Linked DNA regions of Homo sapiens: regions 2 and 3 are each linked to region 1. The links are contacts of gene promoters, found by promoter capture Hi-C in human tissues and cell types (Jung and others, 2019). All regions are on one chromosome and are shown on one strand. Each heading gives the region's core, a stretch centred on a gene start or on the middle of the fragment in contact. The rest is flanking DNA. Distances are from core to core; before and after follow the strand shown. Region 1 holds the start of RELN (reelin). Region 2 overlaps RELN (reelin). Region 3 overlaps RELN (reelin).

Evidence for each region. The method cuts DNA at HindIII sites, captures the fragments that hold promoters and counts their contacts. A contact is called where the count stands out against the background at its distance.
Region 2: a fragment that was not itself captured here is called in contact with the fragment with the promoter of RELN in region 1 in 2 of the 25 tissues and cell types used here (dorsolateral prefrontal cortex and spleen).
Region 3: a contact is called between a fragment that was not itself captured here and the fragment with the promoter of RELN in region 1, in 4 of the 25 tissues and cell types used here (liver, mesendoderm cells, pancreas and 1 more).

The regions. Positions count from the first base shown.
Region 1 is chr7:103,988,386-103,991,085 of GRCh38, reverse strand. It overlaps RELN (reelin), which reads left to right and starts at 1,428. Exons shown (of 65, transcript NM_005045.4): 1 at 1,428-1,955. The coding sequence starts at 1,730. The HindIII fragment of the contact is 8,012 bases long and covers 1-2,700 here.
Region 2 is chr7:103,924,258-103,926,957 of GRCh38, reverse strand. All of the region lies in intron 1 of RELN (reelin), which reads left to right. Among named protein-coding and RNA genes, the nearest start is that of RELN, 64 kb to the left of the region's middle. The HindIII fragment of the contact is 4,065 bases long and covers 1-2,700 here.
Region 3 is chr7:103,862,627-103,865,326 of GRCh38, reverse strand. All of the region lies in intron 2 of RELN (reelin), which reads left to right. Among named protein-coding and RNA genes, the nearest start is that of RELN, 130 kb to the left of the region's middle. The HindIII fragment of the contact is 4,123 bases long and covers 1-2,700 here.

The DNA.
Region 1 (2,700 bases), core at 179-2,678:
AGCTACAGTGTAGCAATTGTTACCACATCATATATATATATATGCACATACATATATGTATACACTGTATATTATTTATATGGCAGTTAAGCCTCTGGGGATTTTGAAGTAAGGGAAACAAGAAGCCAGCTAGAAATGGGCCCTTTCTACCTGTCATTCGGTCTCAGTAAGAGGAAGAAAAACAATTTCTTCCTTTTGCAACGAAGTGATTACAGAGGTCTCCCCTTGGACCCTGATTTTCACCGCCCCTCGCCCCACAAATGCAGGCAAAGGCACTATCCCTTCCAATTTTATAATCTACTCATTTCTGTACGTGCGGGTTTATCTGGCTTGGTGGCAAGCCAAGGGTGGGTGGGGAGAGGCATTAAAACCTGGCAACCCCGCTCCCCCATCTCCGGATGCCGCAGGGCTCCTGCCAGCCGTCCTCGGTTAAAAACGTGCTTATGGATTATTTCACTTCCCTGCAGTTCATGTGCAGCCGCTCATTACCACCCGCTTCAATCACCGCTGCCAGCATCTCCCCTGAACGTTTTTCCCTCCCCCGATTTCAGGGCCATTGGTCATAACCGACATTTAAAGGAAATAAACACTGATTTAAAAAATTACAACACCCATCTCTGCCTGAAGAGCCCAGAAGCAATGAATAACAGAACAGTCCGGCGAAGAGAGCCTGTCGGATCTTAGCTCCGCCAGCCCTTCCTGCCTTACAATTCCCCACAACCGAGCAGCACAAATCACCATTTCCAGGCACCACTCGAGTCTGCCAATTCCACTTTCGCTTAATCTCATTTTAAAATCCTCTACAGATGAGGCTCTGTCGCTGCCGCGAGGGGCCGGGCGGCCGCGGCGGGAGGGACAGGGGGCCTGGGTGGGAAGGGAGCGCGAGGGCCCCTAGCGGTTCGCGGCCTCGGGCGGATTCCCAGAACGAGTGCGGGCCGCCCGGACTGGCAGACTGCGAGCCCCGAGGGGCGCGGGACGCAGCCGGCTCAGACAAAGAAACCGGCGCCAGCGGCCGTCCCTGCCGCCCCTCTCCTTCCCTCACGCATCCTCCCAGGAAAAACAGGGCACACTGACGGCCAAAGGGGCTGGCCTTCCCCTTCAGACAGCTGGACGGGAGGTGCCCTCTGCGGGGCTTTGACGTCCCTCGCAGAAGAGTCGCGGGCTCAGCGGTCCTCGACAGCGTCCCCGTCCCGCTCCCCGGCGGGCGCCCCTCCCTGTCCTCCCGGGTGCGAACCGGGCGCTGGCCGGGGACTCCGGGGACGCGTGCGCCCCTCGCCGCGCGAGGTGCCGCCGAGCCAGCCCGAGAGGGCGGGGGGCGGGCGGGGCGGCGCGCGGGGGCGGGGGAGCGGCCGGGACACGTGTGGCGGCGGCGGGGGGGACGCGGCGCCCGGGGCTTTAAGAAGGTGTGGAGCGGGGCGGGCGCTTTCCCAGGCCTGGCCGAGGGGCGTCGCGCAGAGGCGGCGGCGGCGCACGGAGGCGGCAGACGACGCGCTCTCGGCGCCCGCAGCCCCGGTCCCGCGCTCCCGCGGCCCAAAGTAACTTTGGGAGCCGCCGTCTCCCGCGGAACTTCTCGGCGGGGGCCCGCTCCCAGGCCCGCTCCCGAGCCCGTTCCGCTCCCGTCCGCCTTCTTCTCGCCTTCTCTCCGCGTGGCTCCTCCGTCCCGGCGTCTCCAAAACTGAATGAGCGAGCGGCGCGTAGGGCGCGCGGCGGCGGCGGCGGCGGCGGCGGCATGGAGCGCAGTGGCTGGGCCCGGCAGACTTTCCTCCTAGCGCTGTTGCTGGGGGCGACGCTGAGGGCGCGCGCGGCGGCTGGCTATTACCCCCGCTTTTCGCCCTTCTTTTTCCTGTGCACCCACCACGGGGAGCTGGAAGGGGATGGGGAGCAGGGCGAGGTGCTCATTTCCCTGCATATTGCGGGCAACCCCACCTACTACGTTCCGGGACAAGAATACCATGGTAGGTACCGCAGCACCTCCGCGCTCGCCGCCGCCGGGTGCGCCCGCCAGCGCACCTTTCTCATCCCTTTCCTTCTTCCAAGGGGCCTTGGAAACAAGAACCATGACAACCCTGGCCCCAGCGATGCGCTTGGTCCAGGGAGCGAGAATAAAGTTAGTGGAGAATGGAGTCACAAGTTGGGATTCATTCTCCATGTCCCCACTCCCCGAACGCATCTCCTGGTAATGAGCTGGTGCTTGTGCTAAACGCCTGAGAATTCTTGGAGGCCGGTGTCTTTCCCCCTCACTCCCCGTACTTACCGCAGGCACTTTAAATTGAACCTGCGCATTTTGTTTCTTTACTCCTAGGACTTGGATTTCAGACCTTTGTCCTGCTCCCGGTCCCCCCAGATGGGTCCCCGGGGGGGCGTTGGGGGCTGTCGCTGGGCTTTGCGGGCAGGCTGGTGACAGATTGAAGCGCCCAGGTCTGTGGCTGCCCCGCGCCGCTCGACCGCAAAGTTCCCGCTGCTCACCAGCCAGGAGTCCCTGGCATTTCATTCAGTGTCATACAGCCCTCCTGAAAGGGAGCGGCTGCTTCCAGCTCCCTATTCTTTTGAAAGTGTGATTTAATATGTCAGTAATTGATGATTTTTCTGATTCCTGCCTTACTTTTACATGGTGCTTCTTGTTAGAATTATCTTTGTGATGTTTATTAATGACTTTGTATTTTATCTGCACAGCTTTAATTTCCAGGTAGAGGCTGGAAT
Region 2 (2,700 bases), core at 80-2,579, 64 kb after region 1:
TTTAAAAAGCTTAGGCTGGGCACGGTGGCTCACGCCTGTAATCCCAGCACTTTGGGAGGCCAAGGGGGTGGATCACGAGGTCAGGAGATTGAAACCGTCCTGGCTAACACAGTGAAAACCCATCTCTACTAAAAATACAAAAAAAATTAGCTGGATGTGGTGGCTCATGCCTGTAATCCGAGCTACTCGGGAGGCTGAGGCAGGAAAATGGCGTGAACCCGGGAGGCAGAGCTTGCAGTGAGCTGAGATCAGGCCACTGCCCTCTAGCCTGGGCGACAGAGGGAGACTCCGTCTCAAAAAAAAAAAAAAAAAAAAAAAAAAAAAAAAAAACTTATGATACTTTAGAGCTGCGTTCGGTTTAACTATGTGTATTAGGAATTCTATCAATTATTATTAATGTTGATCTATACATTTTACAAACAACAGATGTATGACATACGCACGAGTATTATCAAGGTCACTCTTGGCATGTTCTTGCACAAGCATAAAGTTGTTGCAAATATGAACATATTTAAGAATTTCGTAATGGCATATTTTCAATATGTTGAACTACAATCAAAAGCTGGCCAGGTGCAGTGGCTCACGCCTGTAATCGTAGCACTTTGGGAGGCTGAGGTGGGTGGATCACAAGGTCAAGAGATCGAGACCATCCTGGCCAACATGGTGAAACCCCATCTCTACTAAAAATACAAAAATTGGCCTGATGGCACGTACCCGTAGTCCCAGCTACTTGGGAGGCTGAGGCAGAACAATCGCTTGAACTGAGGAGGCAGAGGTTGCAGTGAGCCAAGATTGTGCCACTGCACTCCAGCCTGGAGACAGAGTGAGACTCCATCTCAAAAAAAAAAAAAAAAAAAAGGCGGGGTGGGGGTCATATATTTATGTTTTAAACTACTTGGGGCACTATTAGGAGTTACTTTGTTATTTGTTACGTGAGTTCAAATTTTCTTTAGTTAGCTTTGGTCAAAACAACGTAAAAAAAACATAATAGAAACAGAAAAGTTAGAAGCCTTTTTTATTGTATAAAAGCTTTACACACCTGATGATTTTGGGGGAGAAAAATCACACATATATTTGTTCTCTAGGCATCCGTGTATTTTATTGTAATGTATTCACCTGTGTATGTGCTTATAAGAATTACTAGGCTTATTCTTCTCAACCTAGAAAATTATCCATGCCTCAAAAGAAAAACATTGTTAAAACTTCTTGCAGCAATTCAGAGTAATAAATCTCCCAAAATGATTTCTTTTAAGGCTAATCTTTGCTTAAATTTTACAAAGATATGTTGAGTTTTAGACAAGATAGTCTTTCCTTTAAAAAAGCAAGAACAAAAGGATGAAAATTGCTGAAAACCTGAACACCACATTCCTATTCACATCACTTTAATAATTTATTGAGTGCAGGGCCAACAATATGAAATTTTCATGGATGAGTATTATCCAGCCTCATATAAAAGTAACGTGAAAAATAAGGTCAGAGATAAATCACAAATACCAGTTACTCTTGTCTGTGGTTCTCTGAATTATAATAAAGTGTCATTTATAAAGAAAAAAATTTTGGGTTATATAATAGAAACTAATTATCATTATTTGTAGAATTTTTTAAAAATTCAGAATTAAATTATAAAGGCCAAAAGTGGATGATAAAATGAAATTATTCCTGCTTTAAGTGCAGTTGGGGCTAAAAATGGGTAGAGAATTGTAAAATTATATTTTAATTCTTTATCATTACTATTACTATTTAGGAATTTTTATTTAGGCTAGATTGGACAGTCTTCGGAGATTTCAAAAATATTGTTCAGGACCTCATTCCAGGTAGTTTATTCTGACCTATGTCTCCAAGTCTAGGGAAGGGATCACCTGAATAAGATGTGAGATTTTTACCTCAAGGTTAATATTTTTAGAAATTCTGAGTGAGCGTGTGTGTGTGTGTGTGTGTGTGTGTGTGTGTGTGTGTGTGTGTGTGTATGTGTATGCGCATGCACACGTGTGTCAGAGAGAGAGTGCTTGTAGGGTGGGTTGGGGTTTGGAACATAAAGAAGAGGAAAGGCAATGTAGAGGGATTGAGTAGGAGAGATTTATATTCACCAAGTGCTCTCATCTAAACTTACTTCCAAAGGGCTTAATTTTAAAATAATAAATTCACAAACACATTTGACTGCACCTGTTTTATCTCCCAAGAACTTAAAGGAAGCAAAAAAAATTTCAGTGGATTTCCTTTTATTACTGGTGGTGCCAGAAAATAAGACTTAGAGGCTACGTGTGGTTCATCTGAATCTCTGAATCAGTAATAAGTATATCATAATAGCGTTCCACAGAGATGCTGTACCCCTCCTCTAGCCAGCAAAGAACATTTTCCAGACCCTGGAAGGTGTTTTCATCGGTCATTAAGTTTTGCATATGATGGGTGTCCTGCACCTGCTAGAATTCCTGGATCTTGCTCAGTTTTTCCTCTCCTTGCAGGTGGAGACAAAGCTGCAAAGCATTTGCACGGCATTCTCCGCTTGCTTTCAGAGGTGGGCTGATCCAGGGCTCTTTGACCTTATTATTTTGATCTTAAGCTTAGTCCTTTATCACACTGCGTTTAGTCCTCCCTGGAGGCCACTCCTTCTCCTTCCTTTCTCCCCCTCAAAGAACAGCACAGATCCATATAAAATGAAAAAGAAGAGTAATAATAATGATAATAAATGGCTGTAATAAT
Region 3 (2,700 bases), core at 129-2,628, 130 kb after region 1:
AACGTTTGGTAGAATTCACCAGTGAATCCATCTGGTCCTGTGATTTTCTTCATTGTGAAATTTTTTAATTACTGGCTCAATTTTCTTTTCATTATTGGTTCTGTTCAAATTTCCTATTTTTTCATGATTCAATCGTGGTAGCTTGTATGTTTCTAAGAATTTCTTTCTTTCTTTTTTTTTTTTTTTTTTTTTTTGAGACAGTTTCCCTCTTGTTGGCCAGTTTGGAGTACAATGGCATGACCTCGGCTCATTGCCACCTCTGCCTTCCAGGTTCAACAAACAATTCTCCTACCTCAGCCTCCCCAGTAGCTGGGATTACAGGTGCCTGCCACCATGCCTGGCTAATTTTTATATTTTTAGTAGAGACGGGATTTCACAGAATTTATTTCTTTTGGGTTACTCAGTGTGTTGGTGTATAATTGTTCATAATAGTCTCTTACCGTTTCATTTCTGTGGCATCAATTGTAATGACTCCTCTTTCATTTCCAATTTTTTTTAACCTTCTCTTTTTCTTAGTCTGGCTAAGGGTTTGTCCATTTTACTTATTTTTAAAAGCCAAACTCAGTTTTGTTGTTTTTTTCTATTGTTTTTCTATTTTCTATTTCTGCTCCAATCCTTATTTTCTACCTTCTGCTAACTTTAGCCTTAGTTTGCCCTTTTTCTAGTTCCTTAAGGTATAAAGTTAGGTTGCTTATTTAAGGAAATCCTGTCATTTGTGACAACACAGATGGACCTGGAGGACTTCGTGCAAAGTGAAATGAACCAGTCACAGAAGGACAAATACTGCATGAATCCACTTCTGTGCAGGATCTAAAAATGTCAAACTCACAGAAGCGGAGAATAGAATGGTGGTTGCCAGGTGCCAGGAGGAGGGGGAAACGGTTGCTGTTCAAGAGGTATAAAGTTTTAGTTATACAAGGTGAGTAACTTCTAGAGGTGTGCTGCACAGCATTGTACAACTTGCAGTTAACAGCACTGCACTGGGCACTTAAAATTTTGTTAAAGAGGGTGGACCTCGTATTAAGTGTTCTTACTACAATTAAAAAAAACAGTTATTAACTTTTTCAAGATACCACATACATGTAGGTCTGAGATGACACTAGCTGTGTGAACTTGGGCTAGTCGCTTAAAGTTGCATTATAGGTGTGTTTAAGTTATGAGATTTCAATTACGGTTGACAGAGACAGAAGAGTAAAAAGTAAATGATGTGAGTGATCCTATCTACCTGCCCATCTAGAGAGCACACACTTCTGAGTGAAGTTGAAAAGCAAGATGTGAATCTGCTGTTCCTTCAGTTTGTCTGAGTTCTCACATGGCTCCAGTAGTGTGAGCATCCCCAGGCTGGGTGTAACTTTATTGTTTAAAGTGTATTATTTAAAGTCCATTTGTTTTGTGCAACATGTCATCTTCCTGAAAGCCTGCTACCTAATCTGGTGCTCAGCCAACAAAACAGTGATTTCTTCCAGTGCTGCAAAACTTAGAGGATTTTTTTCTAAAAAAAAAAAAATTGATTGCAAAGGATTTATCTCATGTGAAATTTAAGATGTTATTCCATCGTATGGTCTTGGAGTGAAACTTCCTCATCTGTAGAATGGGGCTAATAATGTCCATTTTACTAATCTCAGAGGAGATTTAGGTTAGGAAATGTCCTGAATGCACCTGGGGTCCTTTGGATGCCCTCTCTTTCAGCCCCATTCCAAAGCTTTTTATAAAATTCTTCCTCAAAGCTCTAAGGGTTAGTGTCCTGTGAAGATGTGGTTAAGAAAACTGATGTGAAGATGTGGTTAAGAAAACTGATGTGAGGCTGTTTAAAAAACTACTCCCATTGCAGGGATACAGGATTTTTGGAATAGCAGCCTGGGCCTTGGAGACCTGCATTCCAGTTTGTTCTCTCTCACTAATGACCTCTGTGTCCTTGGACAAATCACTTCATGTTTCTGGGCCTTAATTTCCTTACCTGTAAAAGGTGGAGATTAGGTCAGATGCTTCCAGGGCCCTTTCCAGCTCTAACATTCTATGATTCTTTCATATGGTTCATGTGTCAAAAATGTCTTTTGAAGATACTATAATGATTATAATTATTCCTCTTGCTTTTATGCGTCATGTCTCTTTTAGATTCATAAGCATCTTGACACCTTCACTCAAAATGATCCACCTCTTTTTATCAGAGTTGCCAAGCTGATCATTGCTGGTGGCGCACATTGTTGCTTATTCGTTTCAGTCTCTCTTGATGAGCTTTATTGTCTTAATAGTAGATGACTGAGTTCTTAAAGCTTTTCTTCCTTTTGCCCTCTTGGTGTTTGGCCTGTTTCAGCGCTCTAGCTGCCTAGCCTGTTGGACATTCTGACCCCCAGTAACTGTTGAGATGAACTTGAATAGATGGTCACTCTTCAATATGTGGCTCTCCCTAAGTAATCCTTACATTCTTCTACCGAGAGAACAGCCACGTCCATTCTCTGATTTCCTGCCTATTTTGCAACAAATCAAGTGTTTTTACCAACCTTTAGACCATCTGCTCCTGTCACCCAACTGCTGGAAGACAGTGTCCTGGCTGCCAATGGACATCCAAGGCTTAGATTTCTGTTCTTTCTCAGCTTTCTGTTTCAATACATTTGACTTTAGAGAAGACTTTGTGGCATGAAATTAAATTTTTTTATTTCAGTAGAAATGTAATGAAGACCCATCATATGACATGCACTG